Linked DNA regions of Homo sapiens: regions 1, 3 and 4 are each linked to region 2. The links are contacts of gene promoters, found by promoter capture Hi-C in blood cells and fetal thymus (Javierre and others, 2016). All regions are on one chromosome and are shown on one strand. Each heading gives the region's core, a stretch centred on a gene start or on the middle of the fragment in contact. The rest is flanking DNA. Distances are from core to core; before and after follow the strand shown.

Region 1 (5,171 bases), core at 49-2,548, 210 kb before region 2:
AGAAGAATACAGCTCTTCTTCACCCCCACCAGGCTTTTCATTCTTTATGTGCGTTGGCTGGCCTATGGTACCCATCCCTACATTACTACTCACCCAGTTGCCCGTTGCGGGAGTCATCACAGCCACAGTTATCAAAATCTCCAAGGCTGCAGTTTCTAGTCAGGGTGTACATGACTCCAGCAGAACTGATGGCATGCACAAATGCTGTCTCCCGATTGGCTAGCAGGAACCAAAAATCCAGAGTTAGAGGGAGGGGTTTCAGCTTAAAGAAATACCAGACATGCTACCTTTCTTTAATAACCATCATTATATCCTCTTTCCCTAGCTCCATCCTATTTCCCCATCTTTATTATTATTTTTTAACTTTTATTTTTTTGCAGAGAGTCGGTCTCACTATGTTGCCTAGGCTTGTCTCAAACTCTGGGCTCAGTCTTCCTACCTCGTCCTCCCAAAGAGCTTGGGATTACAGGCTTGAGCCACTGTGCCTGGCCTTCCCATCTTTATAGTGTATCTTACCCTCTTGCATGGTCTGCCCCATCCCTGGCCTTAGCCCTGCTCTTCTCACCTCCTGTCTTTTCAGGTCACACATTTTATGACCAAGTGGCTAGGGTACTGTTGACACACATGACTGGAAAGAGCCTGAGGAAGAAATGGGGAGGGAGATGAATCTGAAGGCTAGGTTGTAAAGAACCCATCCCCACTTCCTCCTGGAACACTTAGGGTCTAAGAGTCATGTGCAGTTAGTCTTGAAAAGAACCTCTGATTGGTAGCTCTTTCATTTACTGGCATGGCCACTCTTTATCTTCTCCATGGGAATCTGGTCTCCAAGTCACTCTCCACTTGCCCAGTATCTCTCTGCTGAGGAAGGGGCTAAGAGGTCTGAGGAATTATGACCCCTGCCTACCTCCTGATATTACTTACATTGTGAGGAGACCTTTAGCCAGCTGGGAGGCCAAGGATGGTATGGGATTGGGAGTAAGGCAAGATCCATTTGTTGAGCAATGAGAGTGTTGAGAAAGAAAGAAAAAACTCTACAGGTGGGAAAAAGGAAGTAGAAAAGGAAAAGAGAAGATCCTGGAGAGGGAGATGACCTAAGAGAAGAGAGCAGGTGAGGAATAAGGGTGTCGAGGAGGCAAGGGGCTATCCCTGGGGCTCTAACCTGTGACCAGAGGGTCCAGGGAGCTGTGGCTGAGGTTTTTCTTACCACTGCGAAGCCCACCATGGCTGGACAGCTGCAGGGCTCTCTCAGGGCAGTTCCAGCGGTCCCAGGCAAACTGATACTTGCATTCTTCAATACCACTCTGGGCACCAGCTGCCACACTGCTGGAGTAAATCAGGTAAGCCTGTAGGGACATAGGGGTAAAAATTCAGACTGAACTTAGGAGGCATTTACCCTAAACTGACCAAACAGCCCTCTTCCTGCTCACTCTCCCATCCCTCCAAAATAATGGAGTAAGCCTTTAAATATGCTGTCTCATTTGACATCACAAATAACTTGTGAAATAGGCACTATATTATAGATTAGGAAACTGAGGCCCAGGGAGTGAGCTAAAGTAATTTCCCCAAAGTCCCAGAGCTAGCAAATGGCAGAACTAGAAATGAAACTCAGTTTTATCAGACTCTAGTCCCTATTATCCTTTATTCACCTTTCTTCACTATACTATCCTGTCTCTCCAAAATGAGCCCAAATCACCTAATTCATGAAATTTAAGGAGTTCTCATCACATGACCATCTTAGAAAACAACATTTTGGAACTGAAAATGCCCATGAATGTAAAGATCATGTAGTACAATTCCAGCATTTTAAACATGGGAAACTGCATCCCACCACGGGGCACTGAGAAGGATGTGTGACTTTGCAGCCTGACACCTATAAAAGGCTGTTGACTTTTATGGCTCTGGAAATTCTAGCCATAAATTCAGTGCTCCTGCGTTCTTATCTTGGCGCTGACAGTGGTTTGCTATGTGGTTTTAGATGTGTCCCTAACACCCTCTGGGTCTCAATCTTTCTATCTGTAATGTATACAGCATAATAAAATATGTGGATATAATGAAAAATCTGCATTTATCATCTTTAGTCAACAGGCTAAGATTAGTGAAATCCATATCAATTAATGGAATTTGTTCTTACCTTTGGACCAGTCATCAGGAAATTGTTCACCGACCTATAAGGGAAAAAAAAAACAAAAACAGAATATAATGCAGAGACACCAACTTGTTTCTGCTTCCAAGAGTGGTAAGAATTACTTCAGCACATGTCATTAATAGGAAGAAAGGGAAACTAGTTTTACCCAGGAAACACTGTGCATAACAAACCTACTAAAGATGATTTACAGCCAGGTGGGGTGGCTCATGCCTGTATTCCCAGCACTTTGGGAGGCTGAAGCAGGTGGATCACTTGAGGTCGGGAGTTTGAGACCAGCATGGCCAAACATAGTGAAACCCCGTCTCTGCTAAAAATACAAAAATTAGCGGGGCATGGTGGCAGGCGCCTGTAGTCCCAGCTACTCAGGAGGCTGAGGCATGAGAATCACTTGAACCTGGGAGGTGGAGGTTGCAGTGAGCCGAGATTGCGCCACTGCACTCCAGCCTGGGCGGCAGAGCAAAATTCTGTTTCAAAACAAAAAAAAAAAAACACACACACACATAAAACTTAGTAGAAAAAACATGAATAAAAGTAGTATCATTTCCTTGCATTGTTAAAGCCAGGTAAAATTTCCAGTACCATATACCTGATAGTGATGGTTGCTGATTATTCTGCCATGAAGTGGGGGAGAGAACTAGCATTAACTCCTGACTATGTTCCTTATGCTCTACTCTCGGTATTTTACATGTTGATCTTGTTAAATCCTTACTGTCTCAGGCATTATTATCTCTATTTTGCAGACAGGAAATCTGAGACTCCAGAAAAGTTAAACGTGTGTTCAGGCTCACCCAGCTAATAAGTGAGTGAAGCAGGATTTGAATCCACATTCATCTGACTCCGTGGGACGTTAGAAGGATACTTCTCTAATTAGGAAGAGGTAAACAAACAGTGGAATATCTCTCTAGGGATTGAGTCATAATAAAACTCTAAAAATAAGTAATGCGATTTGGAAAAATGGTTTGGCTGCCCCTTTTAAAACTAAAAATGGGCTGGGCACAGTGGCTCACGCCCATAATCCCAGCACTTTGGGAGGCTGAGGCAGGTGGATCACCTGAATCCAGGAGTTCAAGACCAGCCTAGGCATCATCATGGCAAAACCCCGTCTCTACTAAAAAAAAAAAAAAAAAATAGCTAGGCATGGTGGTATGCGCCTGTAATGCCAGCTACTCAGGTGGCTGAGGCACAAGAATCGCTTGAACCTGGGAGGCAGAGGCTGCAATGAGCTGAGATTGCACCACTGCACTCCAGCCTGAGCAACAGAGTGATATTCTGTCCCAAAAAAAAAACAAAAAAAAACTAAAAATGAACTTGTCATATGACTTAGCAATTGCACTCTTGGGCATTTATCCCAGAGAAATAAAGACTTACTTTCACTCAGAAATTTGTACCTGGATGCTCATAGCCACTTTATTAATAATAGTCAAAAATTGGAAACTACCCAATGTCCTTCAAAGGGTAGTTTAAAAAACTGTGGCCGGGTGCGGTGGCTCACGCCTGTAATCCTAGCACTTTGGGAGGCCAAGGCAGGCAGATCATGAGGTCAGGAGATCGAGACCATCCTGGCTAACATGGTGAAACCCTGTCTCTACTAAAAATACAAAAAATTAGCCAGGCGTGGTGGTGGGCACTTGTAGTTCCAGCTACTCAGGAGGCTAAGGCAGGAGAATGGCGTGAACCTGGGAATGGAGCTTGCAGTGAGCCAAGATCGCGCCACTGCACTCCAGCCTGGGTAACAGACCGAGACTCCAACTCAAAAATAAAATAAAATAAATAAATAAATGAATAAAAAATAAAAAACTGTGGTACATTCATACCATGGAATATTACTCAGCAATAAAAAGGAATGATACGTTGATACATGCAACAACTTGGATGAACCTCAAGGAAGTTACGGAGTGATTAAAGTCAGTCTCAGAAGGATACATACTGCATGATTCTATTTACATAACAATAGTGAAATAATAAAAATTATATAATTATAGAGCTGGAGGACAGATCAGTGGTTGCCAAGGATTTGGGATGGGGGATGGATGTGGCTGTAAAGAGTAACATGAGAAAGTCTTGGGGGAATGGCCAAATGTCTTTACTGTGGTTATACAAGGCTACACATGACAAAATTGCATAAAGCCACATACATGAGTACATGTACACACAAGTGCATGTAAAAATGGTGAAGTCTGAATAAGCTTCATGGATATCGTACTAACGTTGTAAGATGTTCACACTGGGGGAGGTTGGGGCAAGTGTACATGGGACTTCCCTGTACGTTTCTTCCCTGTACATGTCTTGCAACTCCATAATTATCTAAAAATAAAAAGTTAAATATATATGTACATATACACATGATCTGCAGGGCTAAAGACTTGGAGAATGACTTCAGTATAGGCATTTGAAAATCAGAATCTATTATCTATTATCTTTGTTTTTCCATTATAATGTGAGAAAGTAATACGGGAATCATTATGTATTGTTCCATGCTGGTGTACCCCTGCAATTCTGAAGGCCAATAAGATGCTGAACATCACCAGAAAGGGGATTGGAAATGAAATAGACCAAGAAAGTTTCTTGTCAGGCCAAAAGAGCTTGGCTGACTTTCTTCATAAAAAACACATACAACACCAAAAATGTGAGTAGTTTTTGAAAACCAGTATTAACAAACTAAGAGGCTGCCATATGAGATGAAAAAGATTCTAAACGAGTTGTAATAGAATTTTAGAAAATCAAAAATACTATGAAGTCTATCAAAACTAAGGCCTATTTTTTTTTTTAGACGGAGTCTCACTCTGTCACCCAAGCTAGAGTGGTGCCATCTCGGCTTACTGCAACCTCTGCCTCCCAGGTTCACACCATTCTCCTGCCTCAGCCTCCCGAGTAGCTGGGACTACAGGCACCTGCCACCATGCCCAGCTAATTTTTTTTTGATTTTTTTTTTTTTGTATTTTTAGTAGAGATGGGGTTTCACTGTGTTTGCCAGGATGGTCTCGATCTCCTGACCTCGTGATCTGCCCTCCTCGGCCTCCCAAAG
Region 2 (4,492 bases), core at 1,667-4,166:
CCTCAGATCATCAGGCATCAGATTCTTGTAAGGTACGCAGCGCCGTAGAACCCTCGCATGTGCAGTTCACAATAGGGTTCCAGCCTCTGTAAGAATCTGATGCCACCACTAATCTGATAGGAAGTGAGCTCAGGCGGTTATTCTCACTTGCCCACCGCTCGCCTCCTGCTGTGCGTCCTGGTTTCTGATGGGTACTGGTCCATAGCCCGGGGGTTGGGGATCCTTGCTCTATCTAGAGAATGCCATTTGTATTTTGATGGGGATTGGACTGAATCTGTAAATTGCTTTAGGTAGTGTTGTCTTTTTTCTTTCTTTCTTTTTTTTTTTTTTGAGACGGAGTCTCGCTCTGTTGCCCAGGCTAGAGGCTGGAGTGCAGTGGCTGGATCTCCGCTCACTGCAAGCTCTGCCTCGCGGGTTCATGCCATTCTGCTGCCTCAGCCTTCCGAGTACCTGGGACTACAGGCGCCCGCTACCACGCCTGGCTAATTTTTTTGTATTTTTAGGAGAGACGGGGTTTCACCGTGTTAGCCAGGAAGGTCTCGATCTCCTGACCTCGTGATCTGCCCGCCTAATTCTTCTAATCCATAAGCGTGGAATATCTTTCCTTTTTGTGTGTGTGTCCTCTTTCATCAGTATTGTATAGTTTTCCTTGTATAGATCTTTCATTTCTTTAGTTAAATTGATTCCTACGTAGTTTATATTCTTTGTAGCTGTTGTAAATGAGATTGCTTTTTTGATTTCTTTTTCAGATTGTTTACTGTTGGTGCATATAAATGCTACTGATTTTTGTATGTTGATTTGGTATCCTGAAACTTTTACTGAATTCGTTTATTATTTCTAACAGTCTTTTTCGTGGAGTCTTTTGATTTTTCAATACGATGAGTTTTTATGTCTTACTTTTGTATCCTCTTCTGGGAATTATTACCTGCTCATGTTTGGCAAACTTCTACTCTTCTTCAAGATTCAGTCTTGAGTGCTACTCCTGGGCAGTGCTGTATTATCCAAAGAGTAGGAAAAAATGCATGCTTATGTGCCAGCAAAGCAGAGCCACCAGTTATGAGGCAAGAAACAAACAAAAAAGAAGGCTTGTAGGCTGTGGGAAAAGCCAGAACTTTGTAGTTTTGTTTGGTTATTGAGACAGGGCTTGCTGTGTCACCCAGGCTGGAGTGCAGTGGCAAGGTAATAGCTCGCTGAAGCCTCCATCTCCTGGGCTCAAGTGATCTCCCCACCTCAGCCTCTGGAGTACCTGGGAGTACAGGCATACGGCCACCATGCCCAGCTAACTTTTTTTTTTTTCTTTTTAAATTTGTAGTAGAGACGAGGTCTGGCTATGTTGCCCAGGTTGGCCTTGAACTCCTGTTCTCAAGTGAACCTCCCGCCTCAGCCTCCCAAAGTGCTGGGATTACAGGCATGAGCCACTGTGCCTGGCCTGTAGTTCTTCTTTAATCTTATGTTTTATTAATTTTGAATTATTTAGATGCCCTTGATGAGTCTTCCTTTCCCCGCAGTCGTCAGGAACTCTCTCTTGTTTCCATTTCCTTACACACTTGTTTCCTACCACTTGGCCTGAACCCTTCAAAAAAGTCAATATTACAAAAACTAAAACCAAATAGGTAGGAGGGCTTTTGTAGATTAAAATAGAGACAGAACCAAATGCAAGTGTGAAACTTGATTGCATCTGAATCAAAACAAGCCCCAAATATAAAATCAGTTTGTAGGGAAATATGGAGAACTTTAAATATGGATGTATATTAGGTAATATTATTGAATAATTAATGTTAATTTTCTTAGCTGTGTTAATAGTATTACGGTTATGTAGGAGGATATCCTAATCTTAGGAGATAAATGGAGATGTATTCCTGTTGTCCGCACTTTATTTTATTTTATTTTTTGACACGGAGTCTCGCTCTGTCGCCCAGGCTGGAGTGAAGTGGCGCGATCTCGGCTCACTGCAACTTCCTCCTCCTGGGTTCAAGCGATTCCCCTGCCTCAGCCTCCCGAGTAACTGGGACTGCAGGTGCGTGCCACCACGCCCGGCTAATTTTTTGTATTTTTAGTAGAGAGGGGGTTTCACCGTGTTAGCCAGGATGGTCTGGATCTCCCAAAGTGCTGGGATTACAGGCGTGAGCCACTGCGCCCGGCCTGTACTTTACTTTCAAATGATTGAGTGAGAATGGAAGGGCTTGGGCACTTTGAGAGAAAGAGAACACAAGCAAATTTGCCAACATGCTGAGACTTACTGAATCAAGGTAATAGCCATTATTCTTTTAACTTTTTTTTTTTTAATTTGAGACGGAGTTTCGCTCTTGTTGTCCAGGCTGGAGTGCAATGGCGCGATCTTGACTCACTGCAACCCCCGCCTCCCTGGTTGAAGCAATTCTCCACCATGCCCGGCTAATTTTTGTATTTTTAGAAGAGACGGGGTTTCACCATGTTGCCCAGGCTGGTCTTGAACGCCCGACCTCAAGTGATCCGCCCGCCTCAGCCTTCCAAAGTGCTGGGATTATAGGCGTGAGCGTCCACGCCCGGCCTCTTAACTTTTTGATAGGTTAAAAACTTACAAAAAACGTGGATAGAGGGGGTCTGTCTTGCCCACTAGACCGATATGGTTAGGTTAGGTTAGGTTAGGTTAGGTTAGGTTAGAACCCGACATTGTGCTCTGTACTTCCTAGCCATTCATTCGCTTCAAGTGCTCTGAAATTTAATTTAAAAAATCATAGTTGGAATCCTTTCGGTCACTTTCTCTTTCTCCCTTCGTTCCTCCCTTTCCCTCTTGATTCTTCCTTGAGGCGCAAACACCTGAGAGAGGCTTCTGTCCCTCGGCGGTCTCCGTAAGTAAGTGAACCGTTATTGGCTGGAGGGCGCTGACGTCTGATTGTTGCGCGGTCGCATTTTTCCGGGGAGCGCGGATTCGCATTCCCAATTTTAGGTGGCAGTCGCAACCCATACTATTCGGACAGATGGCACAGAAACCGCTGCGCCTGTGAGTGACCGTGAATGGAAGCCTCTCTCCCTGTGTCTCTTTCGTGTGTGTAGGTGACGACACGGGCGGGAGTCTTTCCCATGACGGGAAGGGAGAAGGAAAAGGCGGAGAGACACGGGGCTGCTGGGGAGCTTAGGTGATGTCTTTGCCTGGCCGGGGCTGACCTCTTTTCCTGGCCCTTTTCGCTTCTGAGGGGGTTTCTCTTGGCGACGCTCGTTCGGAGAGGCGGAAGCTCCCAGAGTTAGGCCTCCTCCATCTTAGGGGGCAGTCCTGGCCTCTGACACATCCTTTCCCCTTCGTTTCTCCTGACCCCATTTATTTACTCGCCAAATAGCCATTGGGCCCACTGATGGGCCCTGGGCAGTGGTGGACAGAGTAGATAGGGACCCTTCCCTGGGGCATTTTTTTTTTTTTTTTTTTTTTGCGAGGAGGAGGGGTGGGGGTGGTGGTGAAGAGAGGGCTTCATGCAGCAAGTATTTATTGAAGAACTGCAGTGTGCCGGACGCTGTGCTAGGTGTTGCAACAGATGGAGTTCCTGCTTTAATGGAGCGTAGAGTCTAGAGGAACAGGTACTAAAGAATCCAGATAATGGGCCGGGCGCGGTGGCTGAGGCAGGAGAATCGCTTGAACCCGGGAGGCGGAGGTTGCTGTGAGCCGAGATCGCGCCACTGCACTCCAGCCTGGGCGACAGAACGAGACTCTCAAAACAAAACAAAACAAAACAAAACAAACAAAAAACAATACAAATAATGGCCGGGCGCGGTGGCTCACGCCTGTAATCCTAGCACTTTGGGAGGCTGAGGCGGGCGGATCACTTGCGGTCAGGAGTTCGAGACCAGCCTGGCCAACGTGGTGACACCCCGTCTCTACTAATACAAAAAAAAAAAATTAGCCAGGCGTGGTGGCGCGTGCCTGTAATCCCAGCTACTTGGGAGGCTGAGGCAGGAGAATCGCTTGAACCCGGAGGCGGAGGTTGCACAGTGAGCCGACACTGCACCTCTGCACTCCAGCCTAGGTAACAGAGTGAGACTCCGTCTAAAAAAAAAGGAATTCAGATAAATGTAAAGTTACCATAGTGATAGGGCCAGGCGCAGTGGCTCACGCCTATAATCCCAGCGACTCCGGAGGCCAAGGCAAGAGAATCACTTGAGTCCAGGAATTCAAGACCAGCCTGGGCAATATAGCAAGGCCCCGTTTCTACAAAAAATACAGAAAAAAAAAAAAATTAGCCGGGCGTGGTGGTCCCAGCTAATTGGGAGGCTGAAGCAGGTGGACCACCTGAGCCTGGGGAGGTCGATGCTGCAGTGAGCTGTGATCGTGCTGCTGATCTCCAGGCTGGGTGACAGATTGAAACCCTGTCTCAAAAAAAAAAAAAAAAAAATTGCAATAGTGGTAACTTTTGGGAAGAAAATATTCGTGAATCTGGGAGAGTGCATAAGAGGGGTATTTGGCTTAATGATAGGAGTCAAGAAGGCTTCCCGAGAATGTTAGGATTGAGCCTTGGGAAAT
Region 3 (4,888 bases), core at 2,316-4,815, 230 kb before region 2:
GAATAGGTAGGACTTTGTCGTTGCTTGGCTATAGGGGGTATGAAGACTTTGCTAATGCTGAGGTATTTAGCCCAGGTGACTGGGAGAATGGTGGTACCAGGACAGGTTAGCAGAAGGTGAGTCTTGTGTGGTGAAGTTTGAAGTGGGTGGTCCTAAGAGTGCAGAAGTGGTTTTGGTAGGGAGACGAATTCAATACTAAATTCCTGATCCTATTCCACCCCCCAGGAACTCTCTTATTTTATTTATTTCCTAGCCTAGGGTCAGCCATTAGATAGCCTTCTCTGTGAATCTGACTTAGTGTTACTTTTTGACTTGAAGGTATAACCTTTACCCTTCTTGCTTTTCCTCACCAGTTTGGAGGGAAGCTGGTTACTTTTGGCCTCCCCAGCACCCCTGCCCATCTGGTGCCACAGCCTTGCCCCCGCCTAGTCTTCATCAGTCAAGTCACCACAGAATCTGAATTCCTGATGCGATCAGCTGAGCTGCAGGAGGCCTTGGGATCAGGAAATCTACTGAATTACTGTCAGAACAAGAGCCAGCAAGCTTTACTGCAAAGTGAAAAGATGCTGTGGCAGTTCCTGAAGGTGGGAAGCCTGAAGGCTAGCTGCTCAGAAGTGTCTCCCCAAAGCCTGGAACTCCAACCTCTGTCAACTGCAGGAGAAGCACAAGCACACTGGGACCCAGATCACAGAGGCCTTAACTCCCATTAGTTTTTCCCCCACACTATACCCACCATCTAGACACAAAACGTTCACCCTTTACCAGAGGCTCAAAGGCCATTTGGGAAGAGGCTAGGAAAGATGGGGAATACACGAGATGTTTTCTTTTGTTGCTACTATGGTTGATGTCCTAGGTATTTTACCAGGGCCAAGGCAAAGACCTTCACGGTATCATGCCAAAGGGCAGATAAGGTAATGGGAAGGAAGAAAAAAGGGAGGAAAGAGAAAAAGAGGAGAAAGGAAAAACATTAGTTAGAAGGACATATTGTCATAAGAAGGCTTTGAGTTGGTTTCAAGTAACCCAAGGCAAGTCCTTGGAGTGGGTCCTAGGGTTCAGGTGCCACTGTACACTGGAGGCATGGGTTCAGTTCCAGTTCTCATTTAATTTCAAGTTTCCTGTGACACCAGGAGGAGTACTATACCTATCAAAGGAAATGAGCAAGTGAGAGATCTGAAGGAAGAAAGGCAAGTAGCTGACTGGTCAGTCAGTGGGATGATTGTGCAAGTTTTTGGAATTGTTTAGAAGAAAGCAAAAAGGATTGGGCCTGTACCAGGGCATCTGAGAGGGACTTGAAATTTGAGCTTTAGGCATAGTAGAGCTTTATGAAGGTGGACATCAGGAAGTTAGAGAAAGAGGATTTGAGAAAGATCTTGACTATACAGTGAAGCCAGAGAATGATGTGGGAAGAAAAGAATAAGAAATGATGCTTTTGTCATAAGCAGGATACAAGTTCCAGGAATGGTGAGATGGTAAAGAGAGGGAGTGGTCAGGAGTTCAGCCTTTACTCCGCTAAACAAAGGAGACAGTGGTACCTATAGGACAGAGGGACCTATAGGACAGGGCATTCTGGGTTTTTTTGTTTTTGTTTTTTTGAGACAGAGTTTCACTCTTGTCGCTCAGGCTGGAGTACAATGGCATGATCTTGGCTTACTGCAACTTCTGCCTCCCGGGTTCAAGCAATTCTCCTGCCTCAGCCTCCTAAATAGCTGGGATTACAGGCACCTGCCACCACGCCTGTATTTTTTTTTAGAGACAGGGTTTTTTTTTTTTTGTATTTTTTGTATTTTTTTTGTAGTAGAGACAGGGTTTCACCATGTTGGCCAGGCTAGTCTCGAACTCCTGAACTCAGGTGATCCACCCACCTCAGCCTCCCAAAGTGCTGGCATTATAGGCGTGAGCCACCGCGCCTGGCCAGGCATTCTGGTTTAAAAGCTACCCAAGAGCTGTCCATCATGATGGTTCCTGGTTGGGTGTGGTGAACATTTCCAAGGGAAGGGCATGGAAGGAGAAGGGTGCCCAGAGAGACTATGAGAAAGGTATGGTTAGAAATCATGTTTCAGTGTGGAATAAATTAAGGGCCTGGGACAGCTAACCAAGATTACGGGGGCTTCAGAAAGGTTTGCTCCTTGGTATTTGGGACATTGAGTGGGAAGCTGACTTTGTTTACTGTACCTGTGCAACTTCTACCAGAGGTCTTCTCAAAGAAACATTTAGACTCACAAGGCTGGGTGCGGTGGCTCACGCCTGTAATCCCAGCAATTTGGGAGGCTGAGGTGGGTGGATCACCTGGGGTCAGGAGTTCGAGACCAGCCTGGCCAACATGGTGAAACCCTGTCTCTACTAAAAATACAAAAAATTAGCCGGGCGTGGTTGAGGGCGCCTGTAATTCCAGCTACTTAGGAGGCTGAGACAGGAGAATCACTTGAACCCTGAGGGTGGAGGTTGCAGTGAGCCGACATGGCGCCACTGTACTCCAGCCTGGTTGAGACAGCAAGAGTCTGTCTAAAAAAAAAAAAGAAAAGAAACATTTAGACTCACAAGACTACTGTAGGCTACACTTGGCAGCAGTCTCCTCGGAAGGATATGGGATAGGGACCACAGCAGGGTAGCATCAGGCAGGTGTCTTCTGTGGGAGCCCTTTCAGCAGTCATGCAGTAATTCAGAGTTCTCTTCTTCAGCCCGCCAGAGACAGCTCAGGTGCAAGGAGATGAGACTATACATCAGGCAGGTATGTAAGTTGCCCTGACTTAGAAGCTTCTTGCCCACAAGAGCCAATATCTCTTGTACCAATTCTAAAAGCATAGCTTCCGGAGTCCCTGCAAGGAATCTGTCCAGTTACAAGAGCCACTGCAAACAGGGAAATGCATAGCATGTTGTTCACATTAATTATTTCTAGGTTACATAGTTCCAGTCCAGATGCAAGTTACCAATCACAAGCATATTGCCTAGGAACAGCTGACATTTTACTCTCACCAGACTACCAGGGTAACAGAGCTAGGAAGTCAATGAAAGGTCAAATTCTCATGTGCAAAGGGCAGGGGGCTATGTTAACACTGCTGATAGCCCATCAGTAAGTCAGATCCAGGGAGGAAAAAGAGATGGCATTGGACTGCTGAGGGCACTTCTAGTAGTACAAAGAACTATATTGGGTATACTGGCACAGATACCCAGCTTGTTGTAGGAAGAGCGTCATTTATGTTCATTTAATGGAATCTTTTCTGTGTTCTGTGGTTTCTTAGGTGACCTTAGAGCAAGACTCCAGAATGAAATTCCTAAAGCTTTTAGGATACAGTAAAGATGAGCTTCAGAAGAAGGTAAGCTGCTTTTCACATCAGAAACATGTACTTGTTGAAGAGAAGAAGAGAATGTTGCCAGAGTAAACCACCTCAGAATACCTCTTCCTGGCCTTATTATTGCATATGTGAGCATTTTACATCCTGGAGTTTGTTTTTTTCTCAGAAAAAAATAGATCAGGGATCTTAGAGAGTACAGTTGGTGGGGTATGGAGATAGGAAAAGAGGATAATGCTTATTTGATCTTACGCTTGAAAGAGCGGTTTTCAGAGGTCTCTCCCTGCAGGTGGCCACATGGTTGAAGAGTGACGTGGGGCTAGGTGAGAGTCCTCAGCCCAAGGGAAATGACCTCAACAGTGACAGACAACAGGCCTTCTGCAGCCAGGTGTGGTAGGAGTCCAGTCAGCCTGACCTATGGTAACACAGGAAACCTGCCTTTTGGGCATCTTTCCCTTCCTGGCCCTTTTCTTTGCTGTCTGTAAGTGTTTAGCGTCTGTAGAAGTCTTCAGACTCCTCACTCTCTTAGAACCAGAGTGAGACACAGAGTCCCTAAGCTTTTGGGCTGGGAGTGGAGAGCTGTGTCTTAACCATGAACTATGGCCCTCCCCAAACCTTACCTGGCTATTTTTTTAGTTTTACCCATTAACGGCCAAATAGTAGAGCTCTCAGGGCTACTAAGCCAGCTCTCTGTCTGTCTTGGGTTCATCCCTAAGTAGTCACCTCTGTCCTTCCTCATACAGGCCTCCAAACACACCACAAAGGAAGCCTCTGCTTCCTCAGCCTTCTTTGATGAGCTGGTCCCTCAGAACATGACTCCTTGGGAGATCCCCATCACAAAAGGTACCCTGACCCTGAGGGAGAGGGAGAGTCTCTGCTTAGGACTAGGTGGGCACGGAGGTTTTGGACTTGAGACATTCCCTTCTTGTCCCCTGCCTCGTGCCTTCCTCCCACCGTCTCAAATGCTGAGTGAGTCGCTTACCAGTTAGAGCTCTCTCTGGTTGTAGATTTTCATGGATACGTCCTTCCTATGGAAGGCCTTCTACCAACAGATTTTCTTCTATCCTTCTTGCTGAAAGGACTGTGGCCCTGCCCACTGTGATCAAGCACACCTCACACTGTGCTACTGCCACATCAGTTCCCTCCCTTGTCTTGGGCCCTGTCTTTAGACCTGGGCACCAAAATACATTTTATTGCCAAGGAGTGAAACTTGAGGATTTAGTTTGGAGCCAAGCACACTGAGTGATATAGAGATATAGAGGGTGTGCTGTGGGCCCTGCAGGGGGCAGGAAGTTGGGGTTTGAGAGCAACTAATGCACAGGGGATGCTTCTGCCTGCAGATATTGATGGACTCCTAAGCCAGGCTCTCCTGCTTGGGGAACTGGGTCCGGCCGTGGAGCTGTGTCTGAAGGAGGAGCGCTTTGCTGATGCCATTATCCTGGCCCAGGCTGGGGGTACAGATCTGCTGAAGCAAACACAGGAGCGCTACTTGGCCAAGAAGAAAACCAAAATCTCCTCGGTAACTGCCCATCATGCAGGAGAAGAAGGGAGGGGATTACTTGGACCTTGTGAGGTGGATACCCACACCTTGGGACCCA
Region 4 (4,910 bases), core at 213-2,712, 180 kb before region 2:
GTCTCGCTTGTCCCCTAGGCTGGAGTGCAGTGGTGCAGTCATGGCTCACTGCAGCCCTGAACTCCTGGGAACAAGTGATCCTCCTGCCACAGCCTCCTGAGTAGCTAGGACTACAGGTGCACGCCACCACACCTGGCTAATTCTTATATGTTTTTAGAGACAAGGTCTCACTATGTTGCCCAGGTTGGTCTCAAACTCCTGGCCTCAAGCGATCCTCCCATCTTGGCCTCCCAAAGTATTGGGATTACAGGTGTGAGCCACTGCCCCGGCCTCTTTTCTTCTTAGAAGGACACCATTTGTGTTGGATTAAGAGCCCACACTACTCCAGCATGACCTCATGTTAAATTGACTAATTACATCTGCCACAACAACTCTATTTCCAAATAAAGTCACATGCTGAGGTACTGGAGCTTAGGGCTGCAATATATCTTTTAGGAGGACACAACTCAATCCATAACATATAGGACATATACCTTTAAATATTTCACTCTAAAAACTCCAACGGGCCGGTCATAGTGGCTTACACCTGTAATCCCAGCACTGGGAGGCCAAGGCGGGTGGAAAACTTGAGCTCAGGAGTTTGAGACCAGCCTAATCAATATGGCAAAACTCTCTGTCTACCAAAAATACAAAAGTTAGTCTGGCATGGTGACTCGCGCATGTAGTCCCAACTACTTGGGAGGCTGAGGTGGGAGGTTCACTGGAGCCTGGGAAGTCAAGGCTGCAGTGAGCCAAGATTATACCACTGTACTGCAGCCTGGGAGACAGGGTGAGACCCTATCTCAAAACAACAACAATAACAACAACCAAAATACACCCCCAAACCCTGCAGCAAACCTTTTACTCACATTCAGATGTTGTATAATCTCAGATTTTATCACTTTGGAACTTTTTATCTGGGTGGTCAAATCCCATTCAACAGATGAAAGAAAGTTCTGTGATGCCAGAGCCTGCATTCTGGGTATTGAGCCCTTTCTTATTGAGCCATTTGAGTTATTTTGAGGAGAACTCATCAATTATTTACTGGAGGGGCAGGTGCTTGGCTGATGAAGGGAGAGCGAAATTGATGGGCCAGCTGTTCTATGTACAGACTTTTAATCAGTAACTCCCACATCTCATTTGCTCCCTCTGTTGTATGTGGGGCTCCAGCTAAAAGCTCCTCCTGGATCCTGGGGACTACCCAGTGTCCTTGGCTGCCACCCCCTCCACAAAAACCCTAGGCAGTAGCTGCTTCTTCTTGGCTTCATTACCCTTTCCTTATCTCTAACTTCAAAAAGTTGGTTGAAATCTTCATTTGCTGATGGGCCCCTTCATTTTTTTCACCACTCTAAGTTTTATTTATTTCTATGTTATTTGTCATCATTATAATAGGGTGGGGTTCCTGTAGTGAGAGGGAAAAACTGTATGTGTTCACTTGGCCACCTAAAACTTGTGAATATATATACTTAAAGTGTTAATAGATATTACCAAATTGCCTTTCCTTTTCAATATTTATATTTCTCTATTCTTTTTCTTCTTTTGTTGCATTGACTAAACTTGAATGTAATATTGGTGACGGTAATGGGCCTCCTGATCTTATCCTATTTTGGTGGAAATGCTTCTAATATTTCATCGTTAAATACGATGTTTTGGAGGCCATTATCCTTATTGAAATGACTCAGAAGCAGAAAGCAGAAAACAGTATGTTTTCACTTATTCATGAGAGCTAACAATGAGTGCACATAGACACACAGAGTGGAATAATAGACACTGAAGACTCCAGAAGGTGGGAGGGTGATGAGCCTGGTCCTGAAATTGTACTTTCCAATTGTTGCTGGCACAATTTATTTTTTAATATTCACTTTGTATTCAGAAACATTACTCACTTTAATTCTAACACTTTGTGGGATATTCTTTTGCATTTTTTTATATTGACATATGTGATCTGAAAATAGTGACTGTTTCTTCCTTTTATTTCTTGTTCAATTTTACTGTGTCAACTAAGACCTCTAGTTCAATAGAATAGAAATGATAGTGGCAACTTTTGTCTTGTTAATGAAATGGAATAATTTCAGTGTTTCACCATGAAAGAAGATATATGACATGAAATTGTGATAGCCAGTCTCTATATGGCTCCAAATGATCTTTGCCTAATGATATTCACATCCCATATCTGAAGAGGGCTGACCTGTGTAATAGGATATTGCAGAAATGGTCACGTGTGACTTCTGAGGCTAGACTATAAAAGATATTGTTTCCATCTTGCTCTCTCGGTCTGCCTGCTCTGGGGGAAAGCCAGCTGCTGTGTTGGAAGGACACTCAAGCAGCTCTATGGAAGGGTCACTGCAGCAAGGAGGCCTCCTGCTGGCAACCAACATCAATTTGCCAGCTCTGTGAGTCAGCCACCTAGAAAGAGGATCCTCCAGCCCCAGTCAAACCTTCAGATGACTGCAGTACTGGCCAATGTTCTGGACTGCAACATCATGGGAAATACTAAACTGGAAGCACTCAGCTAAGCTGCCCGAATTTCTCACCCATATAAACTGTGTGAGATCATAAATGTGTTTCAGTGTGTTAAGCTATCAAATTTCGGGGTCATTTGTTATGCTTCAATGGATAACTAATACAAAGAGCTTTGTAGAGGCTTTATCAGATTGAGGAAGTTCACATCTATGTCTAGTTTCATTAAAGATTTTTAAAATAATGAATTCACTTTGGGAGGTCAAGGTGGGAGGATCACTTGAAGCCAGAAATTTGAGACCAGCCTGGGCAATGAAGTAAGACCCTCTCTTTAGAAAAAACTAAAATTGGTCAGGTGCGGTGGCTTACGCCTGTAATCCCAGCACTTTGGGAGGCCGAGGTGGGCAGATCATGAGGTCAGGAGATCGAGACCATCCTGGGCAACATGGTGAAACCCCGTCTCTACTAAAAAATACAAAAATTAGCTGGGCATGATGGCGCATGCCTGTAGTCCCAGCTACTCGGGAGGGTGAGGCAAGACAATCGCTTGAACCCGGGAGGCGGAGGTTGCAGTGAGCTGAGAATGTGCCACTACACTCCAGCCTGGTGACTGAGTGAGACACTTCATCTCAAAAAAAAAAAAAAAAGAAAAAATTAAAATTAATTAATTAATTATTTTTTAAAAAATGAATTGATGGTGGATTTTTTCATATACATTGTATCCATGTAGTGAATAAACATATTATCTTTCATTAATATGCAAATATTTTGAATTATGTTGGTGGATTTTCCAATGCTAAACCAAGCTTGCATTCCTAAGATAAACCCAACTTGGTCATAAAGTATTGTCAGTTTTGAACATTATTAAATTTAGTTTTCTAACACTTTATTAGGATTTTGCATCTATATTACTGAGTGACTATGACCTATAATTTTCCTTATTCATAAAGTTTTTGTCAAGTTTTATAAGAATTCTGCCAGTTTCACAAAATTAATTGGGAGTGATTTATCCTTTTCTGTACTCTGAATTGATTTGCACAAGTTGGAATCATTTGGCCCTTGAATGTATGTGAGAACTCACTGGTGAAACCACCTGGACTTGATTTTTAGCTATTGCTTTAATGCCTTGTTATAGGATTATTAAGGGTTTTTCTTTCTTCTTGAGTCAGTCTTGGTAAATTGTATTTTTTCCTGGAAGATGGTTCATTTGATGAAAGTTTTCATATACATTGGCTTATAGTTGTTTATAATATACCCCATCTCTGCTAAAAAAATGCAAAATTAGGTGGGTGTGGTGGTGCATGCCTGTAATCCCAGATACTTGGGAGGCTGAGGCAGGAGAATTGCTTGAACCCGGGAGGTGGAGGTTGCAGTGAGCCGAGATCGCGCCATTGCACTCCAGCCTGGGCAACAAGAGTGAAACTCCATCTCAAAAAAAAAAAAAAAAAAAAAAAGGAATTCATAGTAGTAACTCAAATAAATGTATTGAGCAATTCCTACAACCCTAAAAAGGGGTTTACATGAATGAAGTCATTTAATCTCACGACTCTATGAGGGATGCAATATCATTGCCCTCATTTATGAGTGAAGCAACCAAGGTTTAGAGAAGCAAGGTAAGGTGCCCAGATTTACACAGTAGGTAAGTGGCAGAAGTAGGATTTGAACCTAGGTGTGCCTGACTCCAGTGCTTATTCTAACAATAGTGCTATACTGTTTAACAAAACTGAGGTATCATCATAACTTTGGCTAGTGCAGTCTATAGGATCCTCAGTTCTGTTTACTTTTTCCCCATCTCAACTTTAAGATTTACCCCTAAAGCCCACTTTTTTTTTTTTTGAGACAGAGTTTCACTCTGTTGCCCAGGCTGGGGTGCAGTGGTGCGACCTTGGCTCACTGCAGCCTTGACCTCCAGGGTGCAAGCAACCCTCCCACCTCAGCCTCCCAAGTAGCTGGGATTACAGGCATGCACCACCACACCCCACTAATTTTTGTAGTTTTTAGGTAGAGACCATGGCAGGGGGATCTCCCTGTGTTGCCCAGGCTGGTCTCAAACTCCTGGGCTCTAGTGATCTCCCTCCTGGCCTCCTAAAGTGGTTGGATTACAGGCATGAGCCACTGCAGCCAGCCCAAAGCCCACTTTTTTAGTCTTAATAACTTCTCACTAAAGTACGCTTTTGGCCAGGTGCGGTGGCTCACGCCTATAATCCCAGCAGTTTGAGAGGCTGAGGTGGGTGGATCGATTGAAGCCAGGAGTTCGAGACCAACCTGACCAACCTGGTAAAACCCCATCTCTACTAAAAATACAAAAATTAGCCCGGTGTGGTGGCATGCACCTGTAATCCCAGCTATTTGGGAGGCTGAGACACGAGAATCACTTGAACCTGGGAGGTGGAGGTTGCAGTAAGCCGAGATCGTGCCACTGCACTCCAGCCTGGGTGAAGAGTGAGACTCCGTCTCAAGAAAAAAGAAGA

The links. Contacts are between HindIII fragments. The CHiCAGO score rates a contact against its expected background, and 5 or more counts as called.
Region 1: a contact is called between a fragment that was not itself captured here and the fragment with the promoter of CWF19L1 in region 2, in 3 of 17 cell types (total CD8 T cells, naive CD4 T cells and naive CD8 T cells). The highest score is 6.2, in total CD8 T cells.
Region 3: a fragment that was not itself captured here is called in contact with the fragment with the promoter of CWF19L1 in region 2 in 1 of 17 cell types (activated CD4 T cells); the score reaches 6.5 in activated CD4 T cells.
Region 4: a contact is called between a fragment that was not itself captured here and the fragment with the promoter of CWF19L1 in region 2, in 2 of 17 cell types (M2 macrophages and total B cells). The highest score is 5.3, in M2 macrophages.

What each region holds. Positions count from the first base shown.
Region 1 is chr10:100,476,046-100,481,216 of GRCh38, reverse strand. WNT8B (Wnt family member 8B) reads right to left here. Exons shown (of 6, transcript NM_003393.4): 2 at 2,132-2,165; 3 at 1,205-1,343; 4 at 94-219. Among named protein-coding and RNA genes, the nearest start is that of WNT8B, 16 kb to the right of the region's middle. The HindIII fragment of the contact is 6,072 bases long and covers 1-4,334 here.
Region 2 is chr10:100,266,062-100,270,553 of GRCh38, reverse strand. It overlaps CWF19L1 (CWF19 like cell cycle control factor 1), which reads left to right and starts at 2,916. Exons shown (of 14, transcript NM_018294.6): 1 at 2,916-2,983. The coding sequence starts at 2,961. The HindIII fragment of the contact is 22,053 bases long and covers 1-4,492 here.
Region 3 is chr10:100,497,950-100,502,837 of GRCh38, reverse strand. It overlaps SEC31B (SEC31 homolog B, COPII component), which reads left to right. Exons shown (of 26, transcript NM_015490.4): 11 at 354-584; 12 at 3,240-3,314; 13 at 3,580-3,678; 14 at 4,034-4,133; 15 at 4,631-4,809. Among named protein-coding and RNA genes, the nearest start is that of SEC31B, 19 kb to the left of the region's middle. The HindIII fragment of the contact is 569 bases long and covers 3,281-3,849 here.
Region 4 is chr10:100,443,992-100,448,901 of GRCh38, reverse strand. No RefSeq gene overlaps it. Among named protein-coding and RNA genes, the nearest start is that of WNT8B, 17 kb to the left of the region's middle. The HindIII fragment of the contact is 3,570 bases long and covers 1-3,247 here.